Linked DNA regions of Homo sapiens: region 2 is linked to region 1. The links are contacts of gene promoters, found by promoter capture Hi-C in blood cells and fetal thymus (Javierre and others, 2016). All regions are on one chromosome and are shown on one strand. Each heading gives the region's core, a stretch centred on a gene start or on the middle of the fragment in contact. The rest is flanking DNA. Distances are from core to core; before and after follow the strand shown. Region 1 holds the start of ZMAT4 (zinc finger matrin-type 4). Region 2 holds the start of SFRP1 (secreted frizzled related protein 1).

Region 1 (4,232 bases), core at 766-3,265:
AAACCAAGGTGCTCTCATGCAAGATCCCCCACGTGCTGGGGGCTGCCCCTCCTGGGCTCCCTGGGGGTCACGTGCCCTGGAGAGGCCACAGAGGACGACGTCCATGACTAACCATGCCCACCGGCTGGGAAAAGTTCAGCTTCCGCTCCAGGCCCCCCAAACACAAAAAGATTATAATTGGCAGGGCTGCAAAATTGTTTTGTTTACTGTCAGATAGGAAGTACAGAAGAGAACGCTGATGGTATTTTGACACCCCCCCCAAAAAAAAAGTGGGCAGGCATTTTTTTAACCATTGTGAATAGAGTTTCAATAATCACAGTTCCCACCCAAAATAGCTGCCTACAGGAGGTGGAGGAGAATCTGTTGTGGTGGTTAAAGAAAATAAGAATTAAAAAGTGGAAGGGATTTGTGGAGCTGGAGAATCAAGACTGTCATCTGCATCTCCGTGGAAGGGTGCCCTGAGGAAGAGGTGTCACTGGAGAATCCCTCCCAGAACATGCAGTCTTGTCAGGACTGGGAATCGAACTCCCCAGCTGCGGGTTTAACGGAAATCAGAGGGATGAAAATCATCTAAACTCTTCAATGCCCCTAGGACTTGGAAGATCACCCCCAGACTATCAGCTTCAGAGTATCCCGCAGGTAGGCAGCGCAACTGGTGAAGTGCGGTGGGCACACAAGCAGAAGCTGCCTTCGCAGAAGAGGAAGAAAGTTCGAGACCAAGCACATCGCCTGCTTCCCCATGGGTCCCTGCTTCCTAGTGACTCACCTACCTAATATCTCCCTTTAGCAGAAGCCAAAGGCGGAGGAGGCAGGGGGAGAAAGGAGTTTCCCAAGGGTCTCAGAGCAAGAGAGGCCCCTGAGGTCTCGCGATTTAGAATGCTCAAGGGTGCTTCTGGGCTGAACCAGCTGCCTGCCGGGGTGAGCTGTTTTACTTCAAGAGCAGTTAGCAGAAGCAGTGTGGATGGTGACTTCAGCACCACCTCTGCCACAAATGCACCTGTGCACCAAAACAACCTGCGCACCTACACGGAGCCACCCCCTCCACCAGCCTCCACCTCCCAGAGCTGCGGGGATGCTCCGGGCCAGGCACCCCTTCTGGGGACAAGGGTGTAAGCTTCACATGGTACCAAACCGAACTCTCTATCCCGTTTTTTGGCTTTTTCTTTTTTTTTTTTTTTCAGGATACCCCAAGCCTGGAAAGTCTTCCAGAGTTTTCGGGAGCTAATTAATTATGTGATTTCCTCTCCTCTGAGAACTGTTTTGCTGGCGTGTCACCAAGTTGTCACGTAGGTGCCCACCAGGTCAAACAGAATAGACCATCCTCACCCACCCACCCCGGGGAATGTCTCCTTCCACCAAATAAAATGAACTGAGACAGGCAGGAAGGAGGCAGAAGTTTGAGGAAGGACTCCAGTTGAAGGTCACAATAGTTTGGGGAAGGCAGATCAAGGTAATACGAAGGGGACAGACCCTATAGCGGAAAACACAAACAACCAATCACGTTTCTCTCGGAACCAGCCTATCCATGATGGGTGCACCAGGAAACAGCACACCCTGGGATCCAACTTCTTTCACCCAGCACACCCGAATCTCCACCCCAGCCCTGCAGACACCCTAGCCTGAGACCAGACCTATTTAGACAGACCTGAGCGCAGCTAATTAGGAGTAGTAAACAAGCCCATTTCTTGCCAGCGCAGAAGTTTCCCAAATTGTCCGCTTGTTTTCCTCCCAACAAAAGACAGTGATTTCCCACCTTTATCACATTCCCTCCCAGAAACTTTTCTTTCTGCAATCCCTCCACCTAGGCTAAACTGCAAAGCCACTGGCAATGGAGACGCAGGCGCTGCACCCCCGGGACGCAGGCAGAGGTACCTTTTCCGCGAGGCAGAGGGGCCGCCGGTGCCCAGAGGCCAGCTGCCCTGCCGAGCAGTAGAGCGAAGCTGTGGGCTGGAGCACGCTGAGGATTACACGTTCCTGTCTCTGCGACCAGACCTTTCGGCAGCTCGGACCAACTGTGCTAGCGATGCACTTAGCAATTATCTGCTGGCTCCGACGCCCCGCCCTCTGCTCTTGCGATTGGCTCTCCAGTCCCGGGCAGGACTGCATTGGTTTCAGCCGACCTCACTCATTGCTTTGGCTCCTACTATTATCTAAGCCATCAAAGGAAATAATTCCATGTTTCATTGACAACCTGTAAGGCTCTCCTCCAGCCCAATGTGGGGGCAGGACCGGGAGGCCAGTGGAGAGAGGGGAGAGGAGTAGGAAAATGTGGGGGAGCGGGGTGGGGGAAGGAGGTGGAGGGGAGAGGAAAAGAAGGAGAAACTGTGGGGGGGTAGGAGGGTAGGAGGGAGAGAGAGAGAGAGATGGAGCTATCAAGCAATCAGATTCTTGCTCTAGCATTTTAACTTCCACAAAACAGAGCCCATAGCAACAATTTTCTGGCTTTATTTTCCCCCTAACTGGTAAATGTTGCTGAGGGCAGAGAGAATAATAACTATGGGGTGTCTGCCGGCATGAGACAGACTCTAGAAAGCCGAGCAAGGTTGAGGGCTGAAGGGATGGAGTAATGCTTTTCACAGGGCCACCCTGGAGGACATGTGAAGGACATGGCAGATTGCTTGGGGAGCATAGTAGGTGCATACCTGGAGTTTATCTATCAGTACTTTATCTCACAGTCCCCCTCATCCCCCAACCTGAGGAGACAATTTTCCTTTGCACCCTGTCCAAAGAGTCTCAGAAGAGCTATTCTTAAAATCCATAAAACTCTGGAGTTTCTCACTGTTCTCACTGGGAGGTCCAGAAAGCCGAGCATTCTAGAGTGAATGATTCTGCTGGGACCCTCACTTTGGTTTATTCTGACATGGCTTAAATTAATCGCTTAGACTTTCATCAACAACCTACGCACGTGAAGAGAGAACATACCCATCAAAGGGTGGGGACAGCTTAAACACTTTTCCTTGTTCACCAAGAAATCATAAAGTCTCACCCTAGTTAAAATGGCTTTTATCCAAAAGACAGGCAATAACAAATGCTGGCAAGGATGTGAAGAAAAGAGAATGAACCCTCCTACATTGCTGGTGAGAATGTGAATTAATGCAGCCACTATGGAGAACAGTATTGGGGTTTGTCAGAAAACTAAATATAGAGCTACCATCTGATCCAGCAATCCCACTGCTAGGTATATACCCCCAAAAAAGAAATCAGTATCTTGAAGAGATTCCTGCACTGCCATGTTTATTGCAGCTCTGTTCACAATAGACAAGATCTGGAAGCAATGTAAGTGTCCATCAACAGATAAATTAGATGAAGAAAATGTGGTACATATGCGTAGTGGAGTACTATTCAGCCATAAAAAGGAATGAGATCCTGTCATTTACAACACCATGGATGGAACTGGAGGACATTCTGTTAAATGAAATAAAACAGGCATGGAAAGACAAACTTCACATGTTTTCATTCATTTGTGAGAGCTAAAAATTAAAACAATTGAACTCATGGACAGAGAGAATAGAATGATGGTTACCAGAGGCTAGGAAGGGGCGGGGGTGGAATGGTTACTAGGTACAAAAATAGAGTTAGATAGAATGAATAGGATCTGGTATTTGACAGCACAACAGGGTTATTACAGTCAGCAAAACATATTGTACATTTTAAAATAACTGAAAGAGTACAATTGGATTGTTTGTAACAAAAGGAAATGCTAAATGCTTGAGGTGCCAGATACCCCATTTACCCTAATGTGATTATTACACATTGCATGCCTGTATCAAAATATCTCGTGTACCCCATAAATATATACACCCACTATGTTCCCATAAAATTAAAAATTTTTAAAAATTAAGAAGAAATCATAAAGCACAAATTTTGACCTTCCCCTCTCCTTAATGTATTTGTCACCATATGGAAAAGACATCACTTGGCAGCTAAATTTTCTTAACTAGGTAAAATATTTATTATTAATGTTTCTAAAATGAAAGAGCTTTTATAAATCAATAAGTACAAGACCTATAACCCAATTCAAAAATGGCAAAGGACAAAATGGGCTGAATTTTTTAAGAGAGAATTATAAAAGCGTCTTTTAAAGAAAGCTTTTAAAATATCAAATTTCAGATGATCCAGAAACTAACCCTTCAGCCTTCTTATCCTAGGATCTCCATGTCTTTGGTGAGGCTCTGGTCCCAGTCCTGCCCTGGCCTCCCCTGGGGCCTTGAATGGCTGTAGTCCTTATCTTC
Region 2 (4,232 bases), core at 1,115-3,614, 410 kb after region 1:
GGAAATTCCCGCAGGCTGCAGGGGATGGGTGCAAGCCAACAGAACACAAGGCGCTTTGTTTGCTCCAGGTAACTGCTCAGTTCTCGCTCACAAAGTGCAGATGCATCCGCTACCCTCACTCCACTCCCAACACCAGAGTTGACTCTGAGAGCAGCGGTGCCCAGACCTGGCCACTGCGGGCAATCAGTGCCGTTCCCATCCAGCCATCCAACGACAGTCACTGTGGACCCATCTCCACCCTCCCTAGAATAAGCAAAAGCATCTAAAATTTGGGGTATCCCTTTCCCCCACCTGCCCAAATCCTCACTCTGAGGAGCCAGGTGACTGCACTCCCCTCTTTTAGCATCAATAACAGAGGTTAAAGACACTTTAAGGTGAGCTAAGTGTAGGCAGTCTTTCTCCCCCACCCTAAAGGCCCTCCTCAAAAAGCCCTCAGGAAGCCTGCGTCTGTGCTAAGCGCAGCTGGGGTACAGCTCCCCAATCCCTGACCCTCTCCACACCTCAGAGCCTAAACTTCGCTTCTAAAGAATTCTGGGTTGAATTTACTTCTATAGAAGTCAGGTCTGTGATGTGTATATTTTATCTTTATATCTATTTCATTTTATTTGACTTCCCAGGATTTTTTTTTCTTCCCCCTCAAGAATTGCTCTTTAAACATAAGGGGGTTTTGAGAGGAACCTCGGGCCGGTCCCTCAGGCTGTTAGGAAAGTCTGCATTTTGCAGAGCTGCTCTCCCCGGGAGGAGATGAACAATGAGCTAATTACATTTTTATCTTTCTAATGAGCTGAGGATTTGTGTAAATGAGAAAAGCAGGGGGTACGCTAGAGGGAGGGAGAAAAGACTTTCCACCCCCAGCCCTCCGAGGGCAGAGCTGGTACCTGGAAGGGGTGGAGAAACAGAAGTCCCCACGGTTCCTAAACTTTCTCAGCCAGTTTTGCAGCAATCCCAAGGCTACTTGACTGAATGACCAGTGAAGGAAAGGGCTTGGTTTTATTTTTTAAATCTTTGTCGAACCTATGAAAATAAACAAAAGCTGCTCCAAGCATTCTCTCGGCCTTTCTGAACTTTCTACGCTTTGGGTTTTTGTTTTTTCCTCCCGTCTCAGAGGTTAAAAACTTCGATAGGGACTCGGAGTCCTCCTAGAGGAGAGGGAAGCTCCCCTGTTATTTAAAGCGCAAGGCTTTGTTTCAGGTATGGGAAAGGCGAAGTTGGATCCCAGGAAGAGCGGCTCCGGGGACCACAGCGAGTCCCTGCGAGGCCAAGGCGCAGAGCTGCCGCTCCCGGGCCAGCCCCGCCGTGCACCTGGGTCGCGAGGGGCGCTGAGCGATACCTGGGACAGACCAGACGCGCTTAGGAATCACGTGCACAGCATGCGAGCAACCTCGGGCCCTCAGTCCCCAGCACCGGGACCCAGCGGCGGGCGGGCGTAGGGTGGCGCGGGTTCTCCTGCAGCTCCGGCCGGGGGATGGAGGGGGCGGCTCGCGCACGTGGGAGGAGGCAGCCTTACCTTGGGGCTTGGAGGCTTCGGTGGCATTGGGCGGCGTCATGGCGATGCAGACGTCCCCCTCGGGGAACTTGTCACACTTAAGCATCTCGGGCCAGTAGAAGCCGAAGAACTGCATGACCGGCTCGCACGAGTCGCGCACGGCCTCGCAGAGCCAGCGACACGGGTAGATGGGCCGGTCCAGGCAGACGGGCGCGAAGAGCGAGCAGAGGAAGACCTGGGTGCCGGCGTGGCAGTTCTTGTTGAGCAGGGGCACCCAGCTGCTGGCCTGCTGCTTCACCTCCGCCATGGTCTCGTGCTCCAGCAGGTTGGGCAGCACCATCTTCTTGTAGCCCACGTTGTGGCACAGCCGCAGGTCCGCGGGGATGTCCACGCACTGAGGTGGCTTGGTGTAGAAGCGCCCGCTCTGGTACGGGCCGATGTCCGACTGGAAGCTCACGTAGTCGTACTCGCTGGCCGAGCCCACGGCCAGAAGCGCCGCGCCCAGCGCCAGCAGCACGCCCAGGGCTGCCCCGCGGCGGCCCCCCTCGCTGCGCCCGATGCCCATGCCGGCTCTGCGCCCTGTTCTCCGCGACGTCGGGGCTGCCTCCGCCGCCTCCCCGCGCGCGTCCTGCCGCAAACTTCCAGGGACCTCCGGGGACAAAAGGCGCAGTCCCCAGCGTTGCCCGGCTCCGCGGCCGCAAGCTGCTGCCCGGTCCCCCCGGCCAGTGGCGGCCCTCGGCCTGCGGTCGGAGGCGGCGCGGGCGGGGAGGCGGCGCTGCGGGCTGGGTGCGCCCCGGCTCCCGGAGGTGCGGCGAGCAGGAAGGCGCGGGGCGGCGGGCGCGCGGCACTGACTCCGGAGGCTGCAGGGCTGGAGTGCGCGGGGCTCCTACGGCCGAGCCCTCGGAGCCGCCCCGCGCAGCCAATCAGCTCCCGGCGGGGCGAGCCGCACTCGTTACCACGTCCGTCACCGGCGCGGGAGCCAATCGCCTCCCTCGCGAGCGGGTTCGGTTTACTAGAACCAGACGCGGCTCAACACCCCTTAAAAAACAAAACCAAAAATACATAAATAAAAGGGGGAGGAGGAAAGAGACAAGGGGAGAAAAAGAAGGGGAATGGATCACGGCGTGGGGTGGAGAGAGACCAGGGCGGACGCTGTAATTAACTCGCATTGGCTTGCAGAGAAGCGGGGAGCCTGGATCATACTTGCAAACCCATGAAATTATGAAGACTTTTTTTTTTTGAGACAGTTTCGCTCTTGTTGCCTAAGCTGGAGTGCAATGGCGCTATCTCCGCTGACTGCAACCTCCGCCTCCCGGGTTCAAGCGATTCTCCTGCCTCAGCCTCCCGAGTAGCTGGGATTACAGCCGCGTGCCACCATGCCCCCGCTAATTTTTTGTATTTTTAGTAGAGACGGGGTTTCACCATGTTAGCCAGGCTGGTCTCGAACTCCTGACCTCAGGTGATGCTCCTGCCTTGGCCTCCCAAACTTTTTTTTTCTTTTTCTTTACACTGCTTCCTAATTTCAACCAACAGCCCTTTAGACTAGCGGCTCCTCTCCTCGGTTCTCTAGCTGCGGTGCAGACAGGTGGTTTCCCAACTAACAGGGGTTCAGGAAGGCTGAAGCGAGGGAGGTCTGCTTGTAAATACCCAGTGGGCCTGGCTGGGCTCCCTGGAAGGCGAGGCGAAGGCGCAGTTGGAGCTGTTTGCTGTGAGCAGCACCTCTCCAGGTGGGGCCGCCCATGGTGGCCCTCAACACTGGGGCAGTGGGTGGACTTTGCCCGGTGTGGCGGCAGGAAGAGCTGCTAGCAACGGTATTAGCTCTGGGAGGACACTTTTTTAAATATATAATATATATTTAAATAGAAAAACCCTACTCAAGTCCTAGCCCGGGCGACAGCACATCTGTGTGTTTGTGGTGTGGAAAGCCAAAACATTAAAAACACATGTGCACTTATCAGCGTGGCTGGTGTAAATACCAAGTCCATCACTCAGGCACACATGCTAAGGTTAGACCCAGTCCAGGAACTTCAAGTTAAAATCAAGGGTCCCCACTAGGGCAGACGCCAAGAGGACGGTATCAGCACAACAGCTCGGCCCCCAGGAACAGAAGTCTCTCTGCCACCTTCTACCTCGAATTCCTGAGAATTCTTCGTAGGTTTCAAACATTCCCCTGAGAGGGAGGGTTAAGCTCTGGAGAGCTGGGAGTGAGACCCGGACTATCCCGGGACAGAAGACCACAGCAAATAGTTCATGAAGTTCCTGGAGTCTCCATATCTTCTGTCCCTAAGTGCGGGTGGAGAGAGGCTGATATATTCATAGCCCAGTCTGAGCGCACACCCCATGTGGCAAAGGGGTCACAGATCTTAGCGCTCCACAGAGACACTATAGGGCGCGCTGCCTTGCCCGCCAGCTTGTTTGTAAAGCTCTAGGGAGCTTGCTTTGGACTCTGCAAACCTAATTTCTTGATGGACAGATTCCAAGTGAAATGACTAGAGTTTGTGAAGAAGCAGGGCTGTTTTCTTAAAGCATTCGTGCCCGTACAGACACGGTGATTCCACGGTGCACACAGGAGGCTTCTGCAGATGGATGACTTCTCTGTCATTTCGTGGCCAATGGAAGATGCCTTGACACTCAAAAGGTGACATGGAGGCTGGAAGGAAAACACAGAGAAGAGAGAGCAAGATCGGGATGGCCAAGGGTTAATCCCAAGACAATTGGTGAGGCCGGCCTGTGGAGCTGAGGAAGA

What was found. Contacts are between HindIII fragments. The CHiCAGO score rates a contact against its expected background, and 5 or more counts as called.
Region 2: a contact is called between the fragment with the promoter of SFRP1 here and the fragment with the promoter of ZMAT4 in region 1, in 3 of 17 cell types (naive CD8 T cells, M0 macrophages and naive B cells). The highest score is 9.1, in naive CD8 T cells.

What each region holds. Positions count from the first base shown.
Region 1 is chr8:40,895,811-40,900,042 of GRCh38, forward strand. It overlaps ZMAT4 (zinc finger matrin-type 4), which reads right to left and starts at 2,016. Exons shown (of 7, transcript NM_024645.3): 1 at 1,873-2,016. The HindIII fragment of the contact is 2,974 bases long and covers 1,113-4,086 here.
Region 2 is chr8:41,307,109-41,311,340 of GRCh38, forward strand. It overlaps SFRP1 (secreted frizzled related protein 1), which reads right to left and starts at 2,365. Exons shown (of 3, transcript NM_003012.5): 1 at 1,508-2,365. The coding sequence starts at 2,051. RefSeq lists enhancers at 543-1,314, 1,315-2,085, 4,005-4,232. The HindIII fragment of the contact is 12,075 bases long and covers 1-4,232 here.